5 separate regions of the Homo sapiens genome follow, and all the other regions are linked to region 1. The links are contacts of gene promoters, found by promoter capture Hi-C in human tissues and cell types (Jung and others, 2019). All regions are on one chromosome and are shown on one strand. Each heading gives the region's core, a stretch centred on a gene start or on the middle of the fragment in contact. The rest is flanking DNA. Distances are from core to core; before and after follow the strand shown. Region 1 holds the start of ATP6V1E1 (ATPase H+ transporting V1 subunit E1). Region 2 has its middle 16 kb from the start of CECR2. Region 3 overlaps TUBA8 (tubulin alpha 8). Region 4 holds the start of LOC105372853 (a long non-coding RNA gene). Region 5 overlaps MICAL3 (microtubule associated monooxygenase, calponin and LIM domain containing 3).

Region 1 (2,700 bases), core at 33-2,532:
GGGAGACCAATCATTACAATCCATTATGATAGAGGGGACTTCCCCAAAATGAAGATTAACAGTACATACAGGCCTGGCGCGTTGGCTCATGCCTGTAATCCCAGCACTTTGGGAGGCCCAGGTGGGAAGATCACCTGAGGTCAGGAGTTCAAGACCAGCCAGGCCAATATGGTGAGACCCTGCCTCTACTAAAAAAAATACAAAAATTAGCCGGGCTTGGGGCGCGAGTCTGTAATCCCAGCTTCTAGGGAGGCTGAGGCAGGAGAATCACTTGAACCCGGGGCGGAGGTTGCAGTGAGCCGAGATCGCGCCCTTGCACTCCAGCCTGGGCGACAGAGTGAGACTCCGTCTCAAAAAAAAAAAAAAGAAAAAAAGAAAAAAACACAGTTCATAAAGTGAACGACCTTGTCAAAACACTGGTTGGAAGCAGGTCTCTTCCCTCCGCACTGTTTCCTATCATATAGCCTTAAGCATTTCCCTCAGGGTTAAAAAAAAAAAAAGTGACAAGGCTGGTTTGTTTTTTTTTTTTCTTTTTCCAGAGGGAGTCTCGCCCTGTCGCCCATGCTGGAGTGCAAAGGCGCGATCTCGGCTAACTGCAACCTCCGCCTCCGGGTTCAGCTTCCCGAGTAGCTGGGATTACAGGCGCGCGCCACCACGTCCGGCTAATTTTCTATTTTTAGTAGAGACCGGGGTTTCACCATTTTGGCCAGGCTAGTCTCGGACTCCTGACCTCAGGTGATCCGGCCGCCTCGGCCTCCCAAAATACTGGGATTACAGGCGTGAGCCACTGCCCCTGGCCACAAGGCTGTTTTCAATCCTTGCACAGATCTCTGTCCGACTAGGCACAGTGAATACCCTTGGAAAACAGGGAATGCTGAGGTGGGAGGCAAAGAGCCAGGGCGTTCAAGAAGGCAGCGCGCAGGCAAGCGGGCAGTGCCCAAGACCCGAGCAAAAGTCACATGAGCTGCGGGGCAAATCTCCGTCCTCAGGCCGACCTCTTGGATCTGGTGACTTGGAGCAAGGGACCTTCCTGCGGCATCTGGGCGGCTCAAGGCCCGCGGCCTTCCCTAGGCGGGCTCCAGCCCACTCCCCGGGACTGCCGCCGCGGCTTCGTAAGACCCAACCAAGCCCCTCACCTGCTTTTGCACGTCAGCATCGCTGAGAGCCATGGCGAGAGCAATGCTAGGCCGGTGAACAGTAGGCTCGAGTTTAGGTTTGAAAGGTGAGGTGAGAGAAATCGGCAAAGGGAACCCCTGCGCAGATCTCGGGTTCCTTTACTTTATAACCGCGGGTTCCGGTTCCTGCCAGGTGACTGCACAGTTCATCCTCATGACCCTTCTCAGCCAATGGGAAGAGAGCGACGCCCAGGAAGTCCCGCCCTGTCCCGGCCTGTGGGCGCGTCCTCGGGTCCTTCTACGTCGCTGACTCGTGACCTGACCGGTATTTTTTTCCTAAACTGGGATCTTGGGTAGGAGGAAGAAAAGATAAGGAGTTCCTCTATCTGAAATTAGTCGGGCTGTTTTGAGGAGTACTGGTTAGGTATATTGGAGAATGTGCCTTTATTGGAATTTTTCGCATAATTACACAGGGTTATGGGCTTAGGGGTACATGATTGTTGGCCGGGCGTGGTGGCTCACGCCTGCAATCCGGAGACTTTGGGAGACCAAGGCGGGTGTATCGCTTGACCTCAAGTTCGAGACCAGGCTGGACAACATAGAGGAACCCCGTCTCTACCAAAAGAAAAAAAAAAGGGGGATACATGATTTCTGACTATTCATGTCAACCTTGATTACCTGAATAAAGTGTAGGGTTTGTAGGTTTCTCCACTCTGAAGTTACCTTTTTTAACCCCCTTTCCATACTGTAGTCTTAGGAAGGAAGCCACTATACAAAGCCCACACCTAGGGAGTGGGAAGCTATGCTCAACTTCCTTATTAGGGTGGAGCAGCTACATAATTTATTTGGAACTTTTCTGAGATAGCCTATATATTTTTCAAAAGCCTTCCCAGGTCCCATTTAGAGGAATATTAGGACAGAAATCCCCCCAGGCTCATTTGTTTTTATTTGGATTTACCTCAAGCCCGTTTTTTTCCCCAAAATCCCAAAGGCAAAAACTTTTGAAAATTCCTTTATCTTTAGGATAGACTGACTCCTAATAGTAGAATAAGAGGTCAAATGGTACACCCACTTTTTTCTTTTTACTGTGCTATGGTTACCCACCATTTTTATTAGCTTTTTATCTTGAAGAAATTTGAGATATAGTAACTTGTAAGAATACTGCATTGACCTCCCTTCACCTAGATTCAACAATTGTTAACATTTTGCTACATGTACATTAACACTTTATTTTCATACACACACACACACACACACACACACACACTTCCTATTTTAGTGTGTCATAAGAACGAGGATGTAGCAAATTCAGGAAATTTAGTTTACTAGGCTGAACATTAATTTCCTTTGTCCCGGGCCAGGCGCGGTGTCTCACGCCTGTAATCCCACCACTTTGGGAGGCTGAGGTGGGCAGATCACCTGAGGTCGGGATTTCGAGACCAGCCTGACCAACATGGAGAAACCCCAGTCTCTACTAAAAATACAAAATTAACAGGCGTGGTGGTGTGTGCCTGTAATCCCAGCCACTGGAGAGGCTGAGGCAGGAGAATTGCTTCAACCCAGGAGCAGAGGTTGCGGTGAGCCA
Region 2 (2,700 bases), core at 157-2,656, 280 kb before region 1:
CTCCCGAGTAGCTGGGATTACAGCGCATGCCACCGTGCCCAGCTAATTTTTTGTATTTCTAGTAGAGACGTGGTTTCACCACGTTGGCCAGGCTGGTCTTGAACTCCTGACCTCAAATGATCCACCCACCTCGACCTCCCAAAGTGCTGGGATCATAGGCGTGAGCCACTGCCTGGCCTATATACAATCTTTCATTCTTCAACCACTGTTGACCAATCACTGACCATCCCCCCAGAACTCCCCCCACTTTGATGGTTCTGTCATCTCCATTTTGGCCTCAGTCCCAACCGCCAACAAGAAATGCTACTCTGGGCCGGACTTGGTGGCTTACACCTGTAATCCCAACACTTTGGGAGGCCGAGGCGGGTGGATCACGAGGTCAGGAGTTTGAGACCAGTCTGACTAACATGGTGAAACCCTGTCTCTACTGAAAATACAAAAATTAGCCAGGCATGGTGGTGTGCGCCTGTAATCCCAGCTACTCAGGAGGCTGAGAATGAGAGTCGCTTGAACCCAGGGGCAGAGGTTGCAGTGAGGCGAGATCACGCCACTGCACTCCAGTCTGGGTGACAAAGTGAGACTCCGTCTCAAAAAAAAAAAAAAAAGAAATGCTACTCTGTGCCATTTGTTATGAATTTTAAGGTGAAGACACTATTTTTTACACTTCACCATCCAGCCTTTAGCCAGGAAATTTGATTGCAGTTGAGTTTCAAATGGGCACATGAGATGCGCTCACAAGGCCAGGGGACTAATTTGGGGCCTGTAACTATTAGAGACATTTCCACAGTTCCCAACCTTTGCAATAGATTGTTTCTGGAGATTTGTCTTTTCTACCATTAATTAAGAAGCTTGCTAACTCCTGTTATTTAGTCTGGCAGGGATGGGCCATTAGATCAGAGTGTTTTTATTTTTATTTATTTATTTACTACTTTTTAGAGATGAGGTCTTGCTATGTTGCCCAGGCAGAGTGCAGTGGCTATTCACAGGCAGAATGCCATTGCTGATCAGCATAGGACCTTTGACTCTTCTGTTTCTGACCTGAACCCATTCACCCCTCGTTGGGCAACCTCCTGGTTCTCTGCTCCCAGGAGGTCACCATACTGATGTTGAACCTAGTGTGAATACCCAGTTGGCATAGTGAACTATAGCCCAGAACTCCCAAGCTAAACTGATCCTCCCGCCTCAGCCCCCCATGTAGCTGAGGCCGCAGGCATGTACTATCACACCTGGCTATGTTTTTTTTTTCCGTAGAGACAGGGTCTCACTATTTTGCTCAGGCTGTTCTTGAAACCCTGGGCTCAATCAATCCTCCTGCCTCGGCCTCCCAAAGTGCTGAGATTATAGACATGAGCCACTGCAGCCAGAATATTTTTGTTGTTGTTGTCGTTTTGTTTTGTTTTTTGATTTTTTTAATTATACTTTTAAGTTCCAGGGTACAAGCGCACAACGTGCAGGTTTGTTACATATGTATACGTGTTCCATGTTGGTGTGTGCAGCCAGAATTTTTTTTTTTTTTTGAGATGGAGTCTCGCTCTGTCACCCAGGCTAGAGTGCAGTGGCGCGATCTCGGCTCACTGCCAGCTCTGCCTCCCGGGTTCATGCCATTCTCCTGCCTCAGCCTCCCGAGTAGCTGGGATTACAGGCGTCTGCCACCACACCCGGCTAAATTTTTGTATTTTTAGTAGAGATGGGGTTTCACCGTGTTAGCCAGGATGGTCCCGATCTCCTGACCTCGTGATCTGCCCACCTCGGCCTCCCAAAGTGCTGGGATTACAGGCGTGAGCCACCGCGCCCAGCGCAGCCAGAATGTTTTTAGAGGTCATCACACATTAGCTAATGTTTCTGTGGTTTAGGAGGGCACGTCAGAAGCTGTCTTCTGGACTGACTGCGATTTACCAGGAATGCCATGTTTTTTAGCATGATTAAACCTAACAGCATAATCATATCCATCTCTATGCAAGAATAACCACAGTTGTCACAGGGTGCCCCCCATCCTTTTCCTTTTTCACCAACAGGTCTCTTCCTACTAAATGTCCAAAAACCTTTTAGTTTTTCAGCCACGCAAAGACAAGAATCTCACAGACTCTGCTTCAGTTGTCGTTAATGAAGATAGAAGGTGATAGGGAAACCTGATTAACTTTAAAAATAATGAAAGTATACACATAATAGATTTGAAGTTCATAGGAATTTCTAGGTCTTCAACTCTTACAACAATGCTTAAAACATAGTAACTGTTTAGTAAATATTTATGGGGGAATAATATGAAAATTATTATTCATATTATTATTCCCCAAAATATGGGGAAAAATATGATTGGGGAAATCAAATTGGAAAACAATGTCAATCCCACAGTTGTATTCATAAAAAGGAAAATTTTTTTCTTTCCTTCTTTTTTTTTATTTTTATTTTTTGTGAGACAGAGTCTCACTCTCTCACCCCCATTGGAGTGCAGTTGTGTGATCTCACTGCAACCTCTGCCTCCTGGGTTCAATGATTCTCCTGCTTCAACCTCCTGAGTAGCTGGGATTACAGGTGCACGCCACCATGCCGGCTACTTTTTGTATTTTTAGTAGAGACAGGATTTCACCATGTTGGCCAGGCTGGTCTCAAACTCCTGGCCTCAAGTGATCTGCCCACCTCAGCCTCCCAAAGTGCTGAGATTACAGGCGTGAGCCACCGGGCCTGACCAAATTTTTTCTT
Region 3 (2,737 bases), core at 119-2,618, 500 kb after region 1:
CCAAGACTATGCCTATTTTTTATGTGACAGTTCTAATCATCCTGGCAAAACCAGTCAAGGTCTTCCAAAAAATGAAATTCTTTTTTCTTTTTCAAATGGAAACAAACAACCAGCTAGTAGGAGAATGAATGGGGAAAAAAGAGAATGAATGAGAGACATGGTGGGTGATGGGGAAATTAACAAAGCGGAAATGTCCCCTCATTCTCTCTCCTTAAAGCAGAAGCTCTGGAGTTATGTCCTGAAGGATCATTATGGTAGCATTAGCATAAGCTAAGAAAAGTATGTTCCCTGGAGAGGATGCTGCTAAACTTCATCTTCTTGCATTCTCTCCAACAGTACTTGTCCCCACTTGACTCAGGTCAAGAGATGTTAGCACTTAGAGGAGAACAGGTTGGCCCAGGCACAAGGTTTATGGCAGTCGGCTCAGTTCTAGCAATGTATGTGATGTGGCCAAATTCATATACATTGCCTTTCCCTTCCCCACTTTGCCCCTCTCCCAGTATCACCTCCACCTCCAAGATGCCACCTGTGCCTAAGAGGAATGACGGCTGCTGTGGGTCCAGTGGCTGCCTGGCTACCCATGTTGCCACACAGCTGGCTGCCATTCCCACACCAGCCCCTCAGGAGGATGTGCATTTTAAAGCTATGGATTTAAGAGACTGGCGATTAAAATGTGGTGGTCTCAGTGGGAGAGGTGGCTGAGGACATCACTATAGTTCTCATAAGTAATGTCACGGTTTGCCACATTAGACTTGTCCCAGTTTCCCATGGTTCCTGGGGTTGGCTTTGGTTTGGGACGTGTGTTGGGAAGAAGAGAGATTTCCAGGATAGCAGCACCACTGTAAGACGGGTCTGGGCTGAGCCTGGGAGACCTGCCATGCTGCCAGAACTTGGCAAGACCTTCAACAACCTTCTTGGATTGGAGACCCTGCTTTTCTTCTAAGAAGCCCCAATTCCCAAAAACCTAGAGCCTGGTTAACGCCAACACCATCCCGGGGCCTTTCGGCTCTCTTTATTTATTGCTCTGGAATATCCCTGTGACCTCTTCCAACAGTTTTCACTCTTGGCAGGGAAACTTCCTTAAATTTACTCGCAACACAACTAAGAGGAACTTCAGATGACCACTTGGGAGAGAGTACACTTTTGAACAGCTTTGAATCTAGAATGCGTTTCCCTGTTACACATACACATGTACCAGACACCTCCCACCCGCTCCTAATGTCGCTCGTGACTCTCATTTGCCTACTTGCTGAGCCCCCTATACCAGCCCTGTCCTCCTTCTCTAGCCTTTGATTGCCCAGCCCTTCCCCATCTACTTTTTTTTTTGTTTTGCTTTTAAGAGACAGGGTCTTGCTGTGTCCCTGCCACTGGAGTGCAGTGGAACCACTGTAGCTCACTGCAGCCTTGACCTCATGGGCTCAAGTGATCCTTCCACCTCAGCCTCCCTGAGTAGCTGGGACTAGTAGGCATAGCCACCGGGCCTGGCTAATTTTTTTTTTTTTTTTGGTAGAGATGGGTTTTTGCTCTGTTGCCCTGCCTGCTTCCACTTTCTCTTCAGCTTCTCCCTTGCCACCTGCTGGCTTCCCCAGTCCCATCCCGCCTGTTGCATCCCATAGCCCCACTCCCACGCCCCTGACCATGACTTGAAGCCATGCCAAGTGACCAAGATGTCCCATCCTGAGTTATCCTCTGGCTGACTTGTATCTTCTTCTGTGGCTCCTCCTCTTTCTGTGTCCCTCAGGTGGGCATCAACTACCAGCCCCCGACCGTGGTCCCCGGGGGAGACCTGGCCAAGGTGCAGCGGGCCGTCTGCATGCTCAGCAACACCACGGCCATTGCGGAGGCCTGGGCCCGCCTCGACCACAAGTTCGACCTCATGTACGCCAAGCGGGCCTTTGTGCATTGGTATGTGGGAGAGGGGATGGAAGAAGGAGAATTTTCTGAGGCCAGGGAAGACTTAGCTGCCCTGGAGAAGGATTATGAAGAAGTGGGGACTGATTCGTTTGAAGAAGAAAATGAAGGGGAGGAATTTTAAATATATACCTTCCCCTTGGCTGTGTCTCTTTATTTATGCTGTGCCATTCAAAGCACATGTTCAAGAGAACAGAACACTCTCCCCGCCCCAGCCTGATTCCTGCCTTACCCAGGAGGAGGGTGCCTGGCCCCAGTACCCAGGGTGGCACGACTGGGCTAAGTGGACACTGAGCTTCATCAGGCCCTCCCTGGGTAGGAGCAGCTTTGTGTCACTAAAGAAAGTGAGGGCCACTGTCTCCGGCGGGTGAGGCTGCAGCCCAGTTTCACATGCGAGGAGGCCTAATCAGGAGTTTCAATTCCAGATCGGGCTGGGTCCAGCCCCAAAACATGGCCTGCTGGCTGGGGAGTGGGAACACTCAGAGAAAGGGGAGATCTGGGCCTGGGAAGATTCCGGGGCAGGGGTGAGCGGACGTTCACATGAGTGGGTCTATAGCCCGCTCCGGGCATCATCTAGACTTAGCATGCATTCACTCCCCCATCACATATTCCAATACACACCCTGTCCTAGGCACTGAGAGCTGGAGAGTTGGTGATAAGCGAGACGAACACATTTCCTGCCCTCATACACACATAAATAAAGTGAATGAGATCATGTCAGCTGGTGTCAAGTGAGAGAAAGTAAAAAGCAGTGGTGAGAGAGTGTCTGGGCGTGCTCCTGTGGACTGCGTGGTCAAGACAGCCTCATGGAGGCCTGGGCCGTGCA
Region 4 (2,846 bases), core at 347-2,846, 430 kb after region 1:
CAGCTGGCCCGCAAGCGGCGCGCGCAGCCCCGGTTCCCGCTCGCGCCTCTCCCTCCACACCTCCTTGCAAGCTAAGGGAGCCGGCTCCGGCCTTGGCCAGCCCAGAAAGGGGCTCCCACAGTGCAGTGGTGGGCTGAAGGGCTCCTCAAGTGCTGCCAAAATGGGAGCCCAGGCAGAGGAGGCACGGAGAGCGAGCGAGGGCTGTGAAGACTGCCAGCACGCTGTCACCTCTCAATGTGGCTGATAAGGTAGACTTGGGTGGGGTAGGGGCAGCCCAACAACCCGTTCAAAGAGCTTGAGGCACGTTCCTCTTCTGCTCTCACCGCTTTTCCTTCTCCCTGGTGCTGCAGAGCATCCCACAGTTTGTGTGCACTGCCTCCCCACACTCCCTCCTCATCTCACTCTGCCTGGCTCATGTCTCCACCATCCCCTCTTGTGGCTCCTCAGGAGGCTGCCCCTGACCTCCATCTTCCCCAGGGCAGTAGGGAATCACCCCATGTCGCCTCCCCTGGCCTCTTGCATGTCTTGACACAGAGCAGCACCCTCTCTCAAAGCGCTTCTTCTCCAGGCCTTCCAGGCCCACAGCCGACCCATAAGCTCCTCTCTCAATGGCTACAGCCTCCGCCTCCTGTACTGCCTCCTCCTCCTGTTCTCTAATTGTCCTGGGTCTTTCCACCACTTCTGTCTCCACATTGTGGTCCTAGGCTCCTCCACCCCAGGGCTTTAAGAACCACACACATGCTAATGACTCTCACCTTTGACCTTCTGCTGATCTTCCAGCTGAGCTTCAGACTCATATGCACTCCTAGGCTACGTGCTCTCTTGGTGCCCAACAGGTCTCAAACTTGACATGTCTAAAACAGAAGACTTGCCTGTAGTTCCAGCTACTCGGGAGGCTGGGGCAGGAGAGTCGCTTGAACCCAGGAGGTGGAAGTTGCAGTGAGCCGAGATCATGCCACTGTACTGCACCCTGGGTGACAGAGTGAGACTCGGTCTCAAAATAAATAAATAAATACATAAATAAATAAAACAGAAGACTTGCTTCCCTACCACTCCAAACCCATTTATTCCCTAGTCTCCTCCGTCATACTAAGTGAAACCACTCTACCCTGTTGCTCAGGACGAAAACCTCACCCTGAACTCTTTGCTTTGCTTTTCTCTAACATCTCACAATGAATCCATTAGTAAGTCCTCTTCTTTTTTTTTTTTTTTCAAGACAGAGTCTTGCTCTGTCACCCAGGCTGGAGTGCAGTGGCACAATCACGGCTCGCTGCAAGCTCCGCCTTCCGGGTTCACGCCATTCTCCCACCTCAGCCTCCCGAGTAGCTGGGACTACAGGCGCCCGCCACCATGCCCAGCTAATTTTTTGTATTTTTAGTAGAGACAGGGTTTCACCATATTAGCCAGGATGGTCTCAATCTCCTGCCCTTGTGATCTGCCCACCTCGGCCTCCCAAAGTGTTGGGATTACAGGCGTGAGCCACCGCGCCCGGCCAGTCTGCTCCATTTTTTTTACATTCAAAATGCATTTCCCACTGCTAACTACCTCCACTTCCTCCCCCCAGATCTAGGCCACCCTCCTCTCTTCCATGTACCAAAACCCCTACCTATTCTTCCTATCGCCGTTCTTGGCCCCCTCTAGCCCATCCTGTACAAAGCAGCCCAAGAATGGCCTTTCTAAAGTAGATGCCACATCACAGGACTCTTCCCCTTAAAAAACCCAACAGAATCCAAACCCTTTCTGGTGGCCTGCAGTGACAGAGCTGACCCTGCCGGCGTTTGCCGCTCTTTTCCCTCCTCTCCGTTGGTCGCCGTGGCACTGTCCTATGGGCCTTCTTTTTGTCCCCTGAACACACCAAGCTCTTTTCTGACTCTGAGCCCTTCCACTCAATGGTCCATGCTACCTAGCAGCCCCCTCACCTTTCAGGCTGCAACTTTGACACCTGCTCAGACAGGCCTGCCCTAACCTTGTGGGCTAAAGGAGCCCCACATCACTCTCTAGCTGCAGTTTCATTTTGTTTTGTTTTTGAGACAGGGTCTCACTCTATCACCCAGGCTAGAGTGCAGTGGTGTGATCATAGCTCACTGCAAGCTCCGCCTCCTTCCATGATAGCCTCAAACTCCAGGCCTCAATGGATCCTCCCTCCTCGGCCTCTCAAAGGTCTGGGATTACAGGCATGAGCCACTATGCCCGGCCTCTATCTGCATTTTGTGTTCAGTGTACACTTATCAGTACATAAATTATCTTGGCTAGTCGTCATTTCTGTTGTCTATCTCCAACCACCCCCGAAGCCTTTCATCTCTAGCTCCCAGAGCTGGGGACTTGTCTTGTTTACTGCCGTATTCCCAATGCCTAGAGCTCATGTGGCATGCAGCAGGCACTGGCTATGGGTGGAGGTCTCCAGCTCTGCTCCAGCTCCTGTCCCACACGGTGAGTAGCCTTCAGAAAAGGAAGTCCTTGAAAAGTGGAGGCTGGGGCTTTGTTCGGCCTTTCCCTGCCCCTAGGCTTGCGTTCAGCCCGTGGCTGTGTGTCCCTTCCTGGCTTTGCCCCTGATTTGCTCAGTGTGGGTGAGCCATAGCCAGTCTGGTGCTGAGGAAGGGGGTGGATGGGAAGGGCGGGGCCCATATGTCAGTGAGACACAGGCCACAGTTCAGATGGATGGTATCAAGTCTTCATGACTTCAGCTGCACTTAGTTAAACATGGACCAGCCCATTGGAACCTTGTGGGCAGTAGTCTGATTTCTGCTGTCATTTCTGCTCTCTTCCAAGCTTCAATTAAGGGAGCAACAAAAGATCTCTATCATGAGCCATGTGTGGTGATCTCATCTGCTGAGACAAATATTTTT
Region 5 (2,700 bases), core at 140-2,639, 300 kb after region 1:
TTTATTTACATGTGTCTTGCCATACTTTACTATATGCAGCATAGCGTGGTGGACACATTCACCCACTGCAGGAACGCTACCTGATGCGAGGAATAGTACTGTTAGAAACACCTGTCCGTGGGCCGGGCGCGGTGGCTCATGCCTGTAATCCCAGCACTTTGGGAGGCCGAGGCGGGCGCATCACGAGGTCAGGAGATCGAGACCATCCTGGCTAACACGGTGAAACCCCGCCTCTACTAAAAATACAAAAAATTAGCGGGGCGTGGTGGCGGGCATCTGTAGTCCCAGCTACTCAGGAGGCTGAGGCAGGAGAATGGCGTGAACCCGGGAGGCGGAGCTTGCAGTGAGCCAAGATTGCACCACTGCACACCAGCCTGGGCGAAACAGCAAGACTCCGTCTCAAAAAAAAAGAAAGAAAGAAAGAAAGAAAGAAACACCTGTCTGCATGCGTCTTCATGTAGTGTATGAGATATATCTAGTGTGGTGAACACATTCACTCACTGAGATAAGACTACTGTGATTCACATGTGCAAGGAGCACTTAAGAAACATAAAGCCAACTTTACGTAATGCAGTACATGCACCACGCTTTGGTGGACACATTCACTCCTTGAAATAACACTGCCCTGATACGATGAACAACCAGAACACTTAGATGTTTCATACCGTGGCTTTATATATTGTGTTACATGCCCCATAGGGGGGTGACCATAATCACTGTAATGACACAACCCTGATGTGACAAATGACTGGCACCCTTAGAACTTTTTTTTCTTAAGACGGAGTCTCACTCTGTCACCCAGGCTGGAGTGCAGTGTCGTGATCTCCGCTCACTGCAAGCTCCACCTCCCGGGTTCACGCCTTTCTCCTGCCTCAGCCTCCCAAGTAGCTGGGACTACAGGCGCCCGCCACCACGCCTGGCTAATTTTTGTATTTTTAGTAGAGATGGGGTTTCACTGTGTTAGCCAGGATGGTCTCGAACTCCTGACCTTGTGATCTGCCCGCCTCGGCCTCCCAAAGTGCTGGGATTACAAGCATGAGCCACGGTGCCCGGCCCTTTTTTTTTTTTTTCCTTTTTTAAAGAAAGAGTCTCCCTCTGTCTGCCAGGCTGGAGTGTAGTGATGCCATCATAGCTCACCGTAACCTCAAACTCCTGGGTCAAACAATTCCCCCTACCTCAGCCTCCCAAGTAGATGGAACTACAGATGTGCACCACCACGCCTGGCTAATTTTTTTTTTTTTTTTTTTTAGAGGCAAAGTCTAGTTCTGTTGCACAGGCTAATCTCAAACTCCTGGCTTCAAGCAATCCTCCTGTCCTGGTCTCTCCAAGTGCTAGGATTAAGAGGCATGAGCCACCATGCCCAGCCTCCAATATTTTGTTTTTAAAACCATGTGTAAGTTGGGTTATTTAACTTCCAATTCCTGAAAAAAGACCGATAAGTAACAACATTTTTTCCAAAGGCTCCCCTCTGTAAACAGGCCTGAAACCCATCTGTGCTCTATTTCATTTTTCTTTCTTTCCTTTTCTTTTCTTTTTTTTTTTTTTTTTTTGACAGGGTCTTGCTCTGTTGCCCAGGTTGGAGTGCAGTGGCGCTATCTCGGCTCACTGCTACCTCCGCCTCCCGGGTTCATGCCATTCTCCTGCCTCAGCCTCTTGAGTAGCTGGGACTACAGATGCCCGCCACCACGCCTGGCTAATTTTTTGTATTTTTAGTAGAGACAGGGTTTCACCTGATGCCCAGGCTGGTCTCGAACTCCTGACCTCAGGTGATCCACCCGCCTTGGCCTCCCAAAGTGCTGGGATTACAGGCGTGAGCCACTGCGCCCGGCCTCTATGCTCCATTTCAGAAGGAATAAACCTCTTTAAAGCAAAAGGGCTATGTGTAACCAAGAAAACTCTCATATCTGGAATGTAGAAAAATTCTGTATAAACCAATACGGAAAAAAACAGACACCAAAGGAAAAACGGGCAGAAGATTTGATCAGGCATATCACAAAAGAGGACACTCAAATCACCAAGGCATGTGAACAGGTGTTTAACATATTAGTCACAGGAAGTCCATCAAAACCATAATGAGATCCTATCACCCATCAGAATAACTAAAATTAAAGACTGACAATGCCACGAGTAGGCAACGATAGGGAACAACTGGAACTCTCAGACAATGCGCGTGGTGAACTCGTACAACCACTATGGAAAATTGTTCAGCAGTGGTTCTTGAAGCTACATACACATCTACCCTAAAACTCAGCAATTCCATTCTTGGGGATACATCCAACAGAGATGAATGTCTTATGTTAGCCAAAAGACAAGTAAAAGAATGCTCATTGCAGCTTTATTCATAATACTCAAAAATTGGAAACATTCAAATGACCAACAGCAGCAAAATGATAAGCTGCAGTTACAGTCACACAATGGAATACCACACAGCAGGAAAGAGGAATGAACTACTGCAACATCCAGCCACACCGATGAAACTCACAGATTAGTGCTGGGCAAGAGAGGGCAGACACAGGACAGAAAATACTGCACGACTCCATGTACACAAAGACAAGAACAAAGTTTATGTCTATGGTGCAGAAGTCGGCTCAGACAGTGGCTACCTGGGCAGGGCTGGGACTTGGGACCCTGATCTGGACAGTGGTGCTGTGTCAACTTGGTTAAGCTGGGAACTGTCTCCCAGGGCCCCCAGTTAGAGTC

Evidence for each region. Contacts are between HindIII fragments. The study calls those that stand out against the background at their distance.
Region 2: a fragment that was not itself captured here is called in contact with the fragment with the promoter of ATP6V1E1 in region 1 in 1 of the 25 tissues and cell types used here (lymphoblastoid cells).
Region 3: a fragment that was not itself captured here is called in contact with the fragment with the promoter of ATP6V1E1 in region 1 in 1 of the 25 tissues and cell types used here (lymphoblastoid cells).
Region 4: a fragment that was not itself captured here is called in contact with the fragment with the promoter of ATP6V1E1 in region 1 in 1 of the 25 tissues and cell types used here (lymphoblastoid cells).
Region 5: a contact is called between a fragment that was not itself captured here and the fragment with the promoter of ATP6V1E1 in region 1, in 1 of the 25 tissues and cell types used here (lymphoblastoid cells).

The regions. Positions count from the first base shown.
Region 1 is chr22:17,627,467-17,630,166 of GRCh38, forward strand. ATP6V1E1 (ATPase H+ transporting V1 subunit E1) reads right to left here and starts at 1,283. Exons shown (of 9, transcript NM_001696.4): 1 at 1,137-1,283. The coding sequence starts at 1,169. It also overlaps a transcript of BCL2L13 not described here. RefSeq lists enhancers at 978-1,127, 1,208-1,297, 1,239-1,408. The HindIII fragment of the contact is 10,651 bases long and covers 1-2,700 here.
Region 2 is chr22:17,351,947-17,354,646 of GRCh38, forward strand. It overlaps the pseudogene RN7SL843P. Among named protein-coding and RNA genes, the nearest start is that of CECR2, 16 kb to the right of the region's middle. The HindIII fragment of the contact is 4,750 bases long and covers 1-2,700 here.
Region 3 is chr22:18,129,102-18,131,838 of GRCh38, forward strand. TUBA8 (tubulin alpha 8) reads left to right here. Exons shown (of 5, transcript NM_018943.3): 5 at 1,742-2,631. The coding sequence ends at 2,035. Among named protein-coding and RNA genes, the nearest start is that of TUBA8, 20 kb to the left of the region's middle. The HindIII fragment of the contact is 4,128 bases long and covers 1-2,737 here.
Region 4 is chr22:18,053,688-18,056,533 of GRCh38, forward strand. LOC105372853 (a long non-coding RNA gene) reads left to right here and starts at 2,272. Exons shown (of 6, transcript XR_001755424.2): 1 at 2,272-2,430. The HindIII fragment of the contact is 9,258 bases long and covers 1-2,846 here.
Region 5 is chr22:17,928,038-17,930,737 of GRCh38, forward strand. The region is part of intron 1 of MICAL3 (microtubule associated monooxygenase, calponin and LIM domain containing 3); the gene reads right to left. Among named protein-coding and RNA genes, the nearest start is that of MIR648, 52 kb to the right of the region's middle. The HindIII fragment of the contact is 3,175 bases long and covers 1-2,700 here.